2 separate regions of the Homo sapiens genome follow, and region 2 is linked to region 1. The links are contacts of gene promoters, found by promoter capture Hi-C in human tissues and cell types (Jung and others, 2019). All regions are on one chromosome and are shown on one strand. Each heading gives the region's core, a stretch centred on a gene start or on the middle of the fragment in contact. The rest is flanking DNA. Distances are from core to core; before and after follow the strand shown.

Region 1 (2,700 bases), core at 49-2,548:
TAAGGGAGAGGCCGACTAGGCATTTTGGAGGCCAAGCTGTGCAAGAAGACCAGAAAGAACAAAGCTCAGAGGTTCCTTGAGCCTGGTGCCTTTAGGGGCCTGAAGAAGAACAGATCTCACACTTTTTCTTTTGCTTTGTATTTAGAACTCTGTTGGGAGAAAGATAAAGGTAGAAGGATGCAAAATTCTAACAATGGGAGAAATGACAGCTGCAAGGAGAGGGAGGGGGAAGCAACTCTTCTAAAACATAAAAGGGTCATATGATATTTATGAAAAAATTGATTATTTCAAAAAGATTCACAATCCCATTCTCTAACACATAATCTATTTTTACTTTCCCGCATCCTATAACTTGGATCTTGATAAGACTCGATTCGTTGTTTTATGTGGTTTGCAATCTCAACAAAACAAAATTTGTGTTCTTTGACAAGGATAATGCATAATCCTGACTTCAGTCTTCCCTTTTAGTCAGAACCTACCTATTTAAGGTTATTTTCCATATTAACTATTGATGATCAAAATAAGTCTAACTCGTGTTTTTCCTAGTGTTTCATAATTTTAGTTACAGAAACGATGCAGATAAAATTAATCTAACATGCGTCTTCCTGACTCTAGTACGTTGAATCTGGCCAGAAAAACCACATTTGCTCTCTACGTAGGTAATATAAATCCATCATTAGCGAAATTGCTGCATCCCTTTGGACTGGGTCTCATTAGCAGAGGTTGGAGTGGCCACTGGCCGGCACACGACACTTTAGGCCAGCAGGGGGCGGGTAAGCTCCAGGGCACTCGCCCGAGCAGCAGGGGGCGTGTCTTCTGCTTCCTTGACGGACAGCTAAGGATGCGGGAGAGGATGAGGTAATAGGAGCCGGGGCAAGGAAGGAGTTGGGGTGCGCGCGCGTGTGTGTGCGACTGTGAGTGTGCCAGTGCGTGCGCAAGCCCCGAGACAATGCGTGTCTCCAGTTCGCGCTGCGGACACTGATCATGCTGCATTAAGGAAAAAAAAAGAGAGAGAGAGAGAAAATTACATTTGGGGGAAGGAGGCTGCAAAGTTGCGGCTGGGCGACAGTGGTGGTCCCGGGGCCGTGTCATGGCGGGTCGCTTCTCTGCATCAAGGAACCAGGGAAACACACGCGGGCGCGGGTTTGCCTTAGCGCCCTGCTTGGGAGGGGTGGTTCATTCTGGAAGGAACTGAGCAGAGCCACAGGCAGGGGGAGCTCTCCCAGCGGCGGGGACTGCAATTCGTGCGGCGAAGGGGTGGGGAGGGAGGGAGAGAGGGGAGGGGACCAGAGCGTGCCATTCCGAGCGCGGCCGTGCGGCGAGATCCCACCCCGGCGTCTGCAGAGGCCGAGGCGCAACTGGTGCGAGGGCTGGGTCCTTGCCTCGCCGTCAGCCCCAGCTCGCGGCCGCCGGGGCTCGGGCCGCGCGCCCGCCGAGTGGCTTTTGCAAGGCGGGGGCCTGTTTGCAGAGAGCCGGGCATTTGCATGAAGCGACTCGACCCCACAGAGCAGCGGCAGCAGCAGCGGACCCCGGCGGCGGCGGCGGCGCGCGGTCCCAGCCAGGCGGCCCCGGTGTCCCGGCCCCGGTGGATGCACGGCTGGGGAGGAGCCCATGGGCCGGAGCTGAGGCTGCCCGGGGCGGCGGGGCGCGGGGCAGGGGGCGCGGTCGAGGCCCGGAGGCGGCGGCGCAGGAGGAAGCGGAGGAGGTCGGGCGCTCGGGGCCCGGGAGGCGGGCCGCGCAGCGCCGCAGCCCCGGGCTCGCCATGCTCCTGGCCTCGGCCGTGGTGGTCTGGGAATGGCTGAACGAGCACGGCCGCTGGCGTCCCTACAGCCCAGCGGTGAGCCACCACATCGAGGCGGTGGTCCGCGCCGGCCCCCGCGCGGGGGGCAGCGTGGTGCTGGGCCAGGTGGACAGCCGTCTCGCGCCCTACATCATCGACCTGCAGTCCATGAACCAGTTCCGCCAAGACACGGGTGAGCCAGCCGCCCCTGACCCCGCCCCGCCTGCTCCCACCTTCCCAACCTGCCAAGGTACCTCCCTCCCTGTGAACCCACCTTGGCCACCTAGTCGGCACTTCTGTGCAGCAGTGTCACCAAGAGGTGGTGGTGGGAGGCGATTCACTCCGCTGAATCCTCGCAGGATCCTCCCTCCCCCTTAAACATCCATGCAAATAGTATCAGTGTTGTGGTTTTGCAAACCCAGCTTCAACCTAGTCGGTAACAATCCACTCCCCACCCCTTTCATGCCCCCGCTTTTCAGCAGTTGGTGGCCCTAAGTCTTTCTATGTAGAAATTCTAGGGCCGCCCCAGACTACAGGCAATCCCAGCCCTTCGCAAAGGCTTCCTGCCCTCATCCCGTGGCGGCCGGCACCTTGGCTGACCTGACCCTGTTTTGCTTCAGGCACGCTGGGGCTTGCCACACGTCCCCTCACCCCCGATCTCACTGCCTCTGCGTCTCCTGTGTGGGATGCCTCCCCGCAGCTGGGTCCTGGGTGTGGGAACTGGGGGAGGAAGAAGGGATTCCCCGGAGGTTCTCGCTACAGTCGGGTAAGGGAAGCGCCGGGCTCCCTGGGAGGAGAGACTAGGGCTGGGGTACCCTGGACGCCGCGGCATTGGCGAATGCCTCTGCTACACACTACATGCGCGGAAGCAACAGGCCGGAGCAGATGGAGAGAGGAGGGGGAGGCTCGGGGCTTCGGAA
Region 2 (2,700 bases), core at 105-2,604, 450 kb before region 1:
GTTGCTATTAGTGATTCTCCTGACTCCTCTGAGAACGAGCTGTGTAACCTTGGGAAAGTTATTTAGTCTCTCTGTACCTTGGTTTCCTCAAAGGTAGTTGGGATAATAGCACTATATCACTCAGAATTTTTGTAAGGATTAAAGGAATGAATACCTGCAATGTGCTTAGTAGATTGTAGGTCTTATATTAAGCACTGAACATTTGTTATTTATTTGATTACTACCACCACTCCTCTTTTCCTCCTCTTCCTTTTCTTCTTTCCCCCACTTGAGCCAAAGTCCTATATATTGCATGATGTTTTGATATAGGCATTTTAATAAAGGGCATTCTGACATGGTCTAAATATAAACAATTAACCTTTCAAAAATTATTACTGCATCATATTCAAAACTTGTACTTTCACCAAGCCTCACACTTTGAGGCTAATTCCATCTTTAAGCCTTATACTAGGATCTGTGGTACATTTTGTAGAAATTACTAAGTAATACAAAAATAGCATTTTTACATATTTGACTAGCTGCATCAAATTGGGATTACCTAAACACTTCATAACATCACAACTACCTGAAAAATGAAGAAAGATGTTGTGTCACTGTGTTCTATTTTGGAACTGTGATGTTTGGAAGAGAGCAAAGTAACTTCTAAGTGAAGGTAGGGCTATGAGAGAGTGTTGCATTAAAACTGGTCTGATGCAAGATTCCATAACTAGGTAACCTTGTGATTTTAGAACATCAGTGAAAAGCCTTTACTGGTGGTGCATCTGTACAGGTCTGTAGCATCCTCAATTCTTGCCTCCTCAACAGAAAGAATTTGACTGAGGGGCAGAAGGCAGAAGGAGAGACCAAGGCAAGTTTTGGGGTAGCAGTAAATGTTTGTTAAAAACATCAGAGCAGGAGGGAAAAGAAGTAAAGTGCATTTGGAAGGGGGCCAAGTGGGCGACCTGAGAGATCAAGTGTGCAGTTGGACCTTTTGACTGAGTTTTATATGTAGGCATAATTTTGGGGTCTTGTGTCCATTCTCCCCTGATTCTTCCCATGGGGGTGGGCTGTCCACATGTTCAGCAGCCTGCTAGCATGTGGGAGGTGAGCATGTGTAGTGTGAGCATAGAGTTGTATGCATGCTAACTTAAGGCATTCTCCCTTACCAGTCAAATGTCCCTAGAAGTTCATATCATAATTAAACTCTGTCATTTTGCCTCTGAATGCACATGCTTAAGCCTGCTTGCCCAACTCCTGAGGTCTTGTCAGGAAGCTGCTGATCACCATTTTCAGGTTTGGTTTTTTTTTGTATTCGGAGACTGAACCTGGCTGGCACTGGCTGTGACCAATTATTATTTTAGAGAGACAGTTAACAACCACTGGACCATCACCTGATGGTTGCCTGACATATCTGGGTGTGGGATGTGGGGCATGGAGCCTTCTCCTGCCCTACTCATGCCTGACTATCTACCTTGTGTAACATTTCCCCCACCATGAGTTCAAGACCCCAATTATTTGGGGAATATAGACAAAGGTCAGTCTTCTATAACTGCTTCCTGCTGACAGAGGGGTAGTAGTGGTTGTTCTGTGGATTTGGCCTCTTGCTAGCTGTCAGGGCAGTAGTAGCCAGCCAGGTTCAAGGGGGACAGGGGGAGGATTTCAATTCTGTCATGTCTCACTGATGGGCAGCCTAGGGGTCCCCTGTAGAAGGGTGACTCTTGAGTATTGAGAAGACAATATACCTGCCTCTGGTCCCTGCATTTCTACTTTTTCTTAGCCCTGTCCTCCTTATTCTGTTCTTCATTATAAAAGACTGAGAAGGCTAATTTGAGAATTTCCTGCATAAGGGTACTGGGTTCCAAGATTGACTTTTGTAATTTTCTCTCATTCCATTCTTAGGCCAAGTATTACAAAGAAAATAACTGCCATAAGGGGGCTGGACTTCCCTCCCTTTAAATATGACCTTGAAGGTCTTGCAGCATATTGAAAAGGGAGTAGGAGTGATTAGAGAAATGGAGACTACAGGAGGAAGTAGGAGGAAGCGAGAAAAACCTCATGAAAAGCCTTCATATGCTTACAAAAACAGCAATGCTTGGATTTGAGAGAGCAATGTTTATTTGCCCTCGACATAAAGGAGGAACCTCTGGAGGCCTTGGGACTTAGGGCAAGAACTTGCTAATGGTAAAGGAAGAATTTCCCCTCCCCTTAAGAAGTGCTGACTCAAAAAAAAAAGAAAAAAGCAAGTAGGTGAGATCCTTAAAGTGTCATAGCCCTATGCAGGAGGACAAACTGTTTCAAAAACCCCAGAAAAACTTGGCCCTAGGTTGTGACAGGAACAAAAAGCATATGTTAAATCATAAAGCACTGGCAGAGCTGGGGTTTCAATTAGTGTCTTTTTTGGCAATGTACCAACAGATAGGGACAGGATTGGAGGTCATCCAAGCTTGTAGGATAAAAACACCTATAAATTTTGGGGGATGTCTGCAAGGGAGCTCTTATCTTTGCTGCTGCACAAATGCAATAAGAGCCATGGGTGCATGAATAACAGGAAGTGTGTGTTTAAGAAGTCACATGGCATGTGAAGTAAAAGAAGAGGCAGACTTGTCTTCAAGCCAGACAGTTTGGTAGGTGTGCAAGACAATTTCAGATCACACAGAGAAAACAGGAGATACAGGGTGCAGCTTCTTGTGAAAGAGCCATTTTTAGTTGAAAAAGCAGAGG

What was found. Contacts are between HindIII fragments. The study calls those that stand out against the background at their distance.
Region 2: a fragment that was not itself captured here is called in contact with the fragment with the promoter of DTX4 in region 1 in 1 of the 25 tissues and cell types used here (bladder).

Annotation. Positions count from the first base shown.
Region 1 is chr11:59,170,834-59,173,533 of GRCh38, forward strand. It overlaps DTX4 (deltex E3 ubiquitin ligase 4), which reads left to right and starts at 1,299. Exons shown (of 9, transcript NM_015177.2): 1 at 1,299-1,973. The coding sequence starts at 1,763. LOC124902601 (basic proline-rich protein-like) reads right to left here and starts at 2,612. Exons shown (of 2, transcript XM_047427951.1): 1 at 2,432-2,612; 2 at 1-1,897. The coding sequence starts at 2,612. The coding sequence ends at 1,089. RefSeq lists enhancers at 436-976, 1,063-1,357, 1,985-2,700, 2,256-2,365 and silencers at 1,236-1,805, 1,866-1,915. The HindIII fragment of the contact is 18,272 bases long and covers 1-2,700 here.
Region 2 is chr11:58,724,794-58,727,493 of GRCh38, forward strand. The region is part of intron 1 of GLYAT (glycine-N-acyltransferase); the gene reads right to left. Among named protein-coding and RNA genes, the nearest start is that of GLYAT, 5.8 kb to the right of the region's middle. The HindIII fragment of the contact is 6,338 bases long and covers 1-2,700 here.